Regions from separate parts of the Homo sapiens genome. Here region 2 is linked to region 1. The links are contacts of gene promoters, found by promoter capture Hi-C in human tissues and cell types (Jung and others, 2019). All regions are on one chromosome and are shown on one strand. The core of a region is centred on a gene start or on the middle of the fragment in contact, and the rest is flanking DNA. Distances in the headings are between cores, read along the strand shown.

Evidence for each region. The method cuts DNA at HindIII sites, captures the fragments that hold promoters and counts their contacts. A contact is called where the count stands out against the background at its distance.
Region 2: a contact is called between a fragment that was not itself captured here and the fragment with the promoter of SLC10A7 in region 1, in 1 of the 25 tissues and cell types used here (H1 embryonic stem cells).

Annotation. Positions count from the first base shown.
Region 1 is chr4:146,520,400-146,526,221 of GRCh38, reverse strand. SLC10A7 (solute carrier family 10 member 7) reads left to right here and starts at 4,282. Exons shown (of 12, transcript NM_001029998.6): 1 at 4,282-4,604. The coding sequence starts at 4,505. RefSeq lists enhancers at 3,435-3,514, 3,685-4,104, 4,115-4,194, 4,415-4,484, 4,925-5,154. The HindIII fragment of the contact is 10,684 bases long and covers 1-5,822 here.
Region 2 is chr4:147,106,548-147,111,845 of GRCh38, reverse strand. No RefSeq gene overlaps it. Among named protein-coding and RNA genes, the nearest start is that of TTC29, 160 kb to the right of the region's middle. The HindIII fragment of the contact is 3,475 bases long and covers 188-3,662 here.

The DNA of each region.
Region 1 (5,822 bases), core at 3,033-5,532:
AGGGCTTACAACTCTAAGGGGTTCCACGTGAAAGGGTCATGATGGATTGAGAGCACATGTGGTTAGAGTGGGGGGTGGGGGCGGGGGTTAATCTTTTAACCTCAGGCCGGGTCATCAGTGGCACCAGCTGGTCTTGCCACTGACTTCATTCCTGTTGTTTTTCAACTTTTACTTCCTCCTCCTCTTCAGAGAGAGGAGACAGTAAGAGAAATGGCTTCTCTCCTCAGTAAGCTGTTCTGAGTAGTGTGATAAAATCTTGCACTGTCCAGGACATAAATCCTTCCTTTGTCCAGCATATCCACACTGTAGACACTACCTGTCCTTAGTCACTTAGTAGCCATCTTGGTTATCAGATACTGTTGTGGTATCACACTGCTTATGTTCAAGTAATCCCCCTATTTTTTTAAACTTAATTGTTCTATTTTATTAGTCATGTGCTACATATGATGTTCTGGTCAAGACAGTGATCCCATAAGACTATAATGAAGCTGCTGGGTGTGGCAGTGTGTACCTGTGGTCCCAGCTACTCGGGAAGCTGAGGCGGGATCACTTGAGCCCAGGAGCTCAAGGCTGTAGTAAGCTATGATCGCACCACTGCACTCAGGCCTGTGCGACAGAGTGAGACCTGCTTTCTTAAAAAAAAAAAAAAAAAAAGGACTATAATGAAGCTGAAAAATTCCTATTATCTAGTGAAAATGTAGTTATTGTAATGTCATAATGTGACACATTATTTATGCAAATCTATGATGAAAGAAATAAATCAGGCAAAACACCATAGGCATATTTCTGAAAAGAGCAACATCTCCCAAAGAGACTGAGGAAGGTCCTTCAGGAGGTATTCTGGAAGAAGGCATTGTTATCATATAAGATGACTGCTCTACATAGGTTACTGCTCCTAAAGATCTTCTACAGGGACAAGATGTGGAGGTAGAAGTCAGTGATATTGATGATCCTGACCATGTGCAGGCCTAGGCCAATATGTGTGTGTCTTAGTTTTTTTTTTAAAAAAAGTTTAGGAAAGTAAAAACAAAAATGTAAATAGAAAAAACTTATAGAATAAGAATATAAAGAAAATATTTTGGACAGCTGTATGATGTGTTTTAAGCTAAGTGCTATAACAAGAGTCAAAAAGTAAAAAAATTAAAAAGTTTATAAAGTTAAAAGTTACAGTAAGTTATTACTGAATTTAAAAACTGTTAAATTAAATGTAGCCCAAGTATAGTATTTATAAAATCTACAATAGTGTAATGTCCTAGGCCTTAACATTCATTCACCACTCACTCACTGACCCACCCAGAACAACTTCCAGTCCTACAAGCTCCATTCATACACCACTCACTCACTGACCCACCCAGAACAACTTCCAGTCCTACAAGCTCCATTCATAGTAAGTGCTCTATACAGGTATACCACGATTTTTTTTTTAAAGGAATGGAATCTTGTTATGTTACTCAGACTGGCCTCAAACTCCTGGATTCAAGTGAGTCTCCCGTCTCACCCTCTCGAAGTAGCTGGGACTAGAGGCACACACCACTACTCCTGACTCCATTAAAAAAAAAAACCTCTTATACTGTAATTTTTCTATGTTTAGATATGTTTAGATACACAAATACCACTGTGTTGCAACTGCCTACAGTATTCAGTATAGTAACATGCTGTATAGGTTTGCAGCCTAGGAACAATAGGCTATACCATATAGTCTAGGTGTGTTGTACACTACATTATTTAGGTTTGTGTAAGTACACTCTATGATGTTTCTCTAATGATGAAATCGTCTAACCATACATTTCTCAGAATGTAACCCGGTGGTTAAGCAATGCCTGACTGTATTAATTATTGTTCATCTCTTATTGTGCCTAATAATATAAACCAAAAATTATCATCATAGGAATGTATGTATAAGAAAAAATACCATAGCATATATAGATAGGGTTCAGTACAACCAGCAGTTTCAGGCATCTACCTAAGGTTCTTGGAATGTATCCTTTCAGGATAAGGGGGGACTACTGTGATTGAGTTAAGGCTCTTGAGAGATCATTTTGGATTATCTGGGTAGGCCCTAAATCCAATGACAAGTGTCTTTATAAAAGATACACAGAAAAGGAGGTGCAACGTGAAGATGGATGCAGAAACTAGAATAATGTGGCCACTAGAAAGAAATACAGAGGGGAATGTGATGTGAAAACAGTGGCAGAGATTGGAACACTCTAGCTACAAGCCAAGGAAGGCACCACCAGAAACTAGAAAAGGCAAGGAAGGACTCTCCCCTAGAGCCTTCAGCGGGAGTATGGCTCTGCCAAAATCTTGATTTTGGACTTCTGTCCTCCAGAACTGTGAGATAATAAATTTCTGTTGTTTGAAGGCATCCAAGTTCGAGTATTTGTTTCAGCATCCACAGCAAACAAATACAGGCCTTAAGAGAATATAATTCATGGTACATTATATTCTTTTCCTTTAAGTACCATTAAAAACAGAACAAAAAAATCTCTGAGTTAGATTCTGCTCTACACAGATCAAAGAGGTATTAGTAAATAATTTGTGAATAGCTGTACAGTTAAAACAGCTCAATTTCTGTAAACTTAATGTTTAATGATGTTTTAATACAAAACTATCCCTTCAATGACTGAGACGTATGACTCTTTAACCTACTAAGAAATTACTATAAGAAAATAATTATGTTGTAAACTATCTTTCATTTATCTTCACTTATCTTCTGACTGCCTGACAACTAACATCAAATTTTATATTTCATGTACCTGTCTCTTTTCAGAGTAAACTGCTTAATGTCATCTATGTCTCCCTGTTAAGTTCTTTTTATCTTGAAATTAATTTTTTTTCATGTTGCCTGATGTATAATTAGATGACACTTGGTACTGTGTAACCTACAACTGGGAGCACAACTCTTAAAGTGGCTTAGTTTCTGGAAGTCTTGCCATCAAGATAAAGCTAAATTAAATAGAGGAAATGACACGACGAGTGTCTTTCCAGCTTTGAATAAATTCAGAATTAAAGTCTGTCATCACGAAACAATCTCTTCCAAACCTTAAGTTCTATTTTTAACCATTTAAGTGGCAGATGCCAGGTTATTTCAAAATATCACATACTATTTTCTTTCTTTCTTCATTTGGATGAATGATACAGTGGAGTTCATGCTCTTGCAGGGTCTACCGGTAGGAAGTCCATTCATGAAACCATCAATGTCACTGGTTGCCACAAGACATTTCAAGGAAGAAACTGGCAGATAGAACTAGCACTCGTGGCAATGGAAGGTAGGACTCCCCAACCTCTCAGACTCAATCCCCCACCACTTCCGCGTTGGAATCCGCGACCCTCTTCCCAGAGTTTTCCTGTGGCTTGGGTAGGTCAGCCCTGGGGGCGAGCCAGAGCGGGCACCCGCGCGCCCAGGGGCTTGCCAGCGCAGACCCCACTCCGCCCGCGAGTAGCTTAGTTGGTGGGGAGACTTCAGCTGTCACTCTCGGCCCGCAAAGGCAGATCTGCCCCGATCCCTGCAGCCCTCCCCAGTCCCGGAGACAGGTGTGGGCCGCAGAGGGAAGGGGATCCGGACCAAATGCCCACCCGCAGGCGAGCGACCTGGCGAGGTCGGGCCCACCTTCCTTGGGTTGTAGCGGACGCCGGCAAGCAGGGGTCCAGCGAACGTGGGCATCTGCCCGGCGCCGGATTTTCAACCCACCGCCAGAGATAAGGCTCCCCGCCCACCAGCGAGCCACTTTCCCGCGCGGACACCTCTAACTCCGGCAGCTCAGGCTGGGAACTCGGAGATCCAGAGTGGCCTCCCCTCCCCCCCGCGCATACGTCAGCGCTAGCGTCGTGGAAGCGCCGTAATGTCCCGAAGAAGCGCGTCTCCAAACTTGCACCCCGCTGCCGCAGCTTCAACGGAGAAATCCCTTGCCCCAAGCACACGTCAGCCCTGCCCGCGGAGTCATGGCACAGCAAAAGAGAGGCTCTCCATGGAGATATGCTCCAGAAGGGTGGGTGGCTGTGCCTAAAGGTTTGTTAGAAAAGGACAGTCAGTGAGGCTTGCTGGCTGTGGCGCCTTACGACGCTCTCCCCGACCCCTCGTCATTCAGAAGGTTCCGCAGGTCTCGACAGCGGTGCGCTTGTCAGCCCCATCCGGCGGCCAGCCTCCCTTGCCGGATCGCCCACGTTGTCGGCCTGGTCCGAGTTCTTCATTTCAAAGCATCTGCACCTGCGAGCCCGCGGCCAGAGGCGCTGGGGGCGTTTGTGCGCGTGTATTCTGAGGCGCGTGGTAGTGATGGCGGCGCTCAGTGAGACTTTCCTGTCACTGGCTACTACTACTCCCAACCCTCCTCAAAGCCGCCGGAGCAACCCCCAGGTCTTTACTTTACAATCGGCAATTTGACTTGCTCTGCTGCATGTCTGGAGGGACCAAGGAAAGTGTGGAGACGCTCCAAGGATTAGGTGATCGGAGCTTGAAAAGAAAAAAAGCCAAACAAATAAACAAAACCCACCCACCCTAACAAATATGAGGCTGCTGGAGAGAATGAGGAAAGACTGGTTCATGGTCGGAATAGTGCTGGCGATCGCTGGAGCTAAACTGGAGCCGTCCATAGGGGTGAATGGGGGTAAGTGCTGCACCTCTGCCGGCTCCACCGCGGCTCCCACTTCAGAACTAATTTGTGAGTCTTGGAAAGGTGGGGCAACCCTCATTGCAAGCGCTTGCCAATTTCAGGGGGCACTGACCAGCCTTTGGCCCTTTTGCTGATTTTCTAATTTACCAACCCCAGAGGGAACTTGTAATTAGGAACGAGGCAAAGGAATTTGAGGGCAGGTAGCCTTTTCCGTAGACAAACAATGACTATCCTGAGTGTCAAGAAGTGAGGTTACAGAGAATGAAACTTACTCCTCTTGCCTTCAAAGTAGCATCCTATCCCAAGGGAATCTAGGTTGCTAAGAGTTCCGTATCTATCTTGGAGTGGACCTCATTATCGAGTCTACTTTCGAGTCCTCCCCGCCCCCACATTAAAAAAAAAAGTGGAGGAAAAACAAGAAAAGGGACACCTCCGCCCCCAACTCAGATTTTATGGCCCACATGTTGGAGAGTGATGATTTGCTGTAGTTGCTGGTGCTCCAGAAACTCCCAAGCCGACTGACACGTTGCACTCTTTGATTACAGGACACTTCATTACAGCATACTTCCGTGTGCTGCCGGGATTCAGTTGCTATACTAGCAGTCTAACAGATACAGACTGTTAGACTATGTGTAGTGTAGTGTAGTGTGTGTTTTGGCAAGGAAATGTGGATGGACTGAAAGCATACTTAGATCTCTGAATAGTGGGAGCTTTGTACAGGAGATGATGGGCACTGGTGGGAACATTAGAAATATTAGTTTTTTATGCCCCCCCCAACACCTTTAGACAATCTTGTACTACTTTTCATAAACATTAATTGAATTTATTCAATTCGCTTGTCTTTTTGACCTTGTTTGTCAGTTTCCAAGCTTATTGACAGGTTTAATACCTAACTCATGCAACCGGAGCAAATAAGGATAGAGGTGAACAGGCACAATATTTCATAGTAGGAAGCGCTCAGGAGGATATTTGAAGTTATTTTTATCTTTTTGTTAAAACATGATGGAAGTGAATGAAATGATCTCTTAGGAGAACAGCAGTGGTCCCTTCTCCCCTTAACCTCCACCCCATTACTCTGTTTAGAAGTAGCTTCCGGGAACATTTTAAAAGGAATTATTTAAACCAAAATTGTGGAGATGAAGGATTGTTTGTTTTAAAATTTTGTTCTTCTGTATTCAACTTAGAACAAAATGTGTAGAATATGTAACTGTG
Region 2 (5,298 bases), core at 676-3,175, 590 kb before region 1:
GTACTGTGTTCCTGGCTTTAGAGAATTATCTTTAAATAAAAATACAACATGAAAGTCCTGATTTATTTTTATTTCTTTTATGTTTGAGATGAAGTTTTGCTCTTGTTGCCCAGGTTGGAGTGCAGTGGGGCAATCTCGGCTCACTGTAACCTCTGCCTTCCAGGTTCAAGCGATTTTCCTGCCTCAGCCTCCCGAGCAGCTGGGATTATAGATGCACACTATCACACCCGGATAATTTTTGTATTTTTGGTAGAGATGGGTTTTTACCGTATTGGCCAGGCTGGTCTTGAACTCCTGAACTCAGGTGGTGCACCTGCCTCGGCCTCCCAAAGTGCCAGGATTATAGGCGTGAGCCACTGCACCTGGCCAGAAAGTCCTGATTTAAATAATAAAGTTCAAGAGTGTGTCCTCTGCCATCCTCGATTTACTAGCTTGCTCTGCTTTAGTGTATCCATCTCTAAAATGGGAATATTATTACTTACAGTTATAAATAGCTGTAACAGAGCATACAGTAATGGTCCTTGAGCTTCTCAGTGTCAGAAGATTCATGTTTTAAACATTTTAAATTCTTCTGCTTATCTATAGCACTCAAGAACATAAAGTGCTTTGAAATAGTCCAATAAAAAGGCCAGGTTTTTTCCTGCTATAGATATGTGGGATGAGGTACATTCAAGTGGTAAATCAGTGACACCCAGTGGCTGCTGCTTTTATATTTAGTTTTTAAATTTTCAATTTAACTTTCTAAAGTTCTGTCCCAAAACAAATGAAAGAAGATGATGAGAGCATGGAAGTTATAGATGCCTTTAAAGAAAGAGTTTCTCAGCAGTGATATGATTTTCCTAGGACATGAGAGCTATTGAATAGCAATACCAAAAATAGAGAGAGTGCAGGACAGTGGAAAACGGTTCTGGGAATTTCCAGCCCCATCATTTGCATGCTATTAAAGAGTGTACTCAAGCTTTCCTGTCACTGTTGGATTTCCCAAGAAACATTCTCATCCTTGAAGTGGCATGTTAACTGCCCAAATCCAGCGAAATCCTTATGTGTTAGAGACAGTTGGGAACATTCACTGGATATTAGACTTCCTAGGTGTAAGCAAGACTTAACTGGAGGTTTAATCCATAGCCCGCACCAAAACTCCCCTCAGTCGTAATATGACTCGCTGTAACTGCCTCAAATCCCCACACACATGAAGTTGAGTAGATTAGCATAATAGAACATGCCGGGCTCAAATCCCAGCTTGCACACTCTGTGGTTGGAGTCTCTTAAGTCACTTAAACCTCTTGGAGCCCTCAGTTGTCCTTCTGTATAATAAAGAATAAAGGCGATAATACTTAACTCATGGGTTAATAAAAAAATATTAGGTTGGTGCAAAAGTAATTGCGTTTTTTTCTCTTCCTTTCTTCCTTTCTTCCTCTCTTCCTCCCTTACTCCCTTCCTTCCTTCTCTCTCTCTCTTTTTGATGGAGTTTCACTCTTGTTGCCCAGACTGGAGTGCAATGGCACCATCTCACTCACTGCAACCTCCACCTCTTGGGTTCAGGCAATTCTCCTGTCTCAGCCTCCAGAGTAGCTGGGATTACAGGCGCCTGCCACCATGCCCGGCTAATTTTTATATTTTTAGTAGAGACGGGGTTTCACCATGTTGGCCAGGCTGGTCTTGAACTCCTGACCTCAGGTGATGCACCTGCCTCAGCCTTCCAAAGTGCTAGGATTACAGGCGTGAGTTACCATGCTTGGCTTGCCATTATTTCAATGACAAACATCTCAGTAACTTTTGCACCAACCTAATAATACATGTAAAGTGGTGGTCATATTACAGGCACTCATCATTGTCCTGATTTGTATCAGCTGACATTCTCTGTTGACCTAGATGCACAATGGCTGCTGAGCAAAACCCTTCTCTGAAACTGGATGAGTCTATTGCACTTTTTAGGTGTTCTGTGATCTGACTCCTCTCTGAGGTAACAGCTTGGATGGAAATGTACTCATTGTCATTTTTTATAATTAGAGAGTGGGACTATTTTCCATATATGACTAGTGTTGCTAAAGTACTTAGGATTTTCTGGATGAAGGACTCTGGAGAAATACTGTATTTAAAAATTCTTAGCTAATAACTTACATTTTAAGGATTAGTATTTTTTCCACATAAAACATTAAAGAAGTTTTAATAGCACAGAGATATGCTAAGTAAGGCAATTAGGTAACAGAGTTTATTAAAAACTACACAAAGGGTACATTAAAACAAAAGGCTCTAGTGCTTAGTTGCTGCTCCTTTTAATTGCTAGATAAATATCTTCAATAACTAGGTTATTAAACTATATACATAGAAATATGGTAGTAATATTTTTAAAAGATGACCTTTTTCTACATTAGTTAAAAAAGTGGAATGGTTAAGATGCCAGGCCTTGCAGCTAGGTGGACTTGAACTTGAATCTTGGATTTTTCCACTTACTGGTTTACTTAGATTCTTTAAGCTTTAGTTTATATAAACAATATAAAATTATGTAGTTTTATGTCATCGATAGAAGGTTGGGAAGAGTGAAGGAGAGCAAGTATGGGAAATACTTAGTATCTGGCACACAGGAAGCACTCAATATGGAAAGTGGAAAAATAGGAACTGCATAGAACAGAGGCTCTTAACCTTATCTGATTCCAACCCTACATAACAAATATTTATTTATATATTTTTACTTGACAAAAATTGTGTATACCTATGGTATCTAGCATGATGTTTTGATAAATGTGCACATTGTGGAATGGCTAAATCAGGCTCTTTAACATATGCATGACATCACATATGTATTTTTTGTGGTAAGTGCTTGAAGTCTTCTTGCAATTTTCAAGTATACAATATATTGTTATTAACTATAGACACCATGATGTTCAATAGGTCTCTTGAACTCATTCCTCCTGTGTAACTGGAAATTTTGTGTCTGTTGACCAATGTTTCCCCAAATCCTTTCTCCCCCAACAAATAGTTTTATATTTTCTTTTCCCTTTACTATCTTAGAAAGAAATTTTAGAGCTAACACAAGATACTACATTATTTAAATTCGAGCACATTAGAGTGCTCTAATTATAACATAAAGGAGAAATAGAGGAAATTGGCAAATGGTGAAATCATAATATGCATTTCATGATAATTGGCAAATGGTGAACTAATAAGCATTTCAACATAATGCTTGGATACAAATGACACCAGAAGACAAAATACTTGTGCTTCCACAGTCATCCTGAGTATGGCAACTAGCCATGCAGAGCTATCCAGCTATGTGACTCAACAAAAAGTAGAACCTTGGTGACTTTTTCAAATAGGAAAAAACCCTTGGTAATATATCAAACAAGGCATAGTGATATTCCCTCACATATGTGGTAGGTGCATTACTGGGAATTTTATATTGGTTTATACAAACTAAATGTATCGTTTATATTTAAACCATACAGAAGCACCATTAGAGTTAAGGTTCTAAGCTAAAAAAGTTATAATCAGATTTTTTGGCCTACACAAACTTGGGATGGAATGATTTTTCATTGTGGGACTGTCTCCTTCATTACACCATGTTGATAATTCTGGACCCCCATCTACTAAATACCAATAGCCCCTACCCTCTAAATCTTAACCAAAAGTAACCCCACAGCTTTCCAAAAATACCTCCTAGTGGGATATGCTACTCTCTTTAGGAATCAATGGCCCAGAGAGGCATTGAATCTCAAAGCTGATTTTCTTAACTTCTTAAACAAGCCAAAGGTTTTGAAATCCAGGCTGTGGGGAGTGAGACTGAGGAATTCCTTTTTTTTTTTTTTTAACTTTTATTTTAAGTCCAGGGGTACATATTCAGGTTTGTTATGTAGGTAAACTCATGTCGTGGGGGTTTGTTGTACAGATTATTTCCCCATCCCAGTGTTAAGCCTAGTACCCATTACTTATCTTTCCTGGTCCTCTTCCTCCTCCGACCCTCCAACCTCTGGTAGGCCCGAGTGTCTGTTGTTTCCCTCTTTGTGTCCATGTGTTCTTGTCATTTAGCTCCCACTTATAAGTGAGAACATGCGGTATTTCATTTTCGGCTCCTGCATTAGTTTTCTAAGGAAAATGGCCTCTAGCTCCATCCACGTCCCTGCAAAGGACTTGATCTCATTCTTTTTTATGGCTCCGTAGTAGTTCATGGTGTATATGTACCACATTTCCTTTATCTAATCTTTTATTGGTGGGCATTTAGGTTGATTCCATGTCTTTGCTATTGTAAATAGTGCTACAGTGAACATTCATGTGCATGTGTCTTTATGGTAGAATGATCTATATTCCTTCAGATATATACCCAGTAATGGGATTGCTGGGTCAAATGTTAGTTCAGTTTTTAGCCCTTTGAGGAATCGCCACACTGCTTTCCACAGTGGTTGAACTAATTTATCCTCCCACCAACAGTGTATAAGCATTCCTTTTTTTCCACAACCTCGCCAGCATCTGTTACTTTTTTGACTTTTTAATAATAGCCATTCTGACTGGTGTGAGATGGCATCTCATTGTTTTGATTTGCATTTCTCTAGTGATCAGTGATGTCGAACATTTTTTCATATGCTTGTTGGCCACATGTATGTCTTCTTTTGAAAAGTATCTGTTTATGTTCTTGGCCCACTTTTGAATGCAGTTGTTTGTTTTTTCTCTTGTAAGTGTATTTAAGTTCATTATAGATGCTGGATATTAGACCTTTGTCAGATGCATAGTTTGCAAATATTTTCTCCCGTTCTGTAGCTTGTCTGTTTACACTGTTGATAGTTTCTTTTGCTGTGCAGAAGCTCTTTAGTTTAATTACATCCAATTTGTCAATTTTTGCTTTTGTTGCAAAAGCTTTTGTTGTCTTTGTCATGAAATCTTTGTCCAGGATGGCACTGCCTAGGTTGTCTTTCAGGATTTTTGTTTTTTGGGGGTTTTACATATAAGGTTTAATCCATCTTGAGTTAATTTTTGTATATGGCATAAGGAAGGGCCCTAGTTTCAATCTTTTGCATATGGCTAGCCAGTTACCCCAGCACCATTTATTGAATAGGGCATTTTTTCTATTTTTGTTTTGGTTGTTTTTCTATTGCTTGTTTTTGTCAACCTTCTCAAAGATCAGATGGTTGTAGATGTGTGGCCTTATTTCTAGACTCTCTATTCTGTTACATTGGTCTAGGTACCTCTTTTTGTTCTAGTACCGTGTTGTTTTGGTTATTGTAGCCCTGTAGTATAGTTTGAAGTTGGACAGTGTGACATCTCCAGCTTTGTTCTTTTTGCTTAGGATTTCCTTGGCTATTTGGG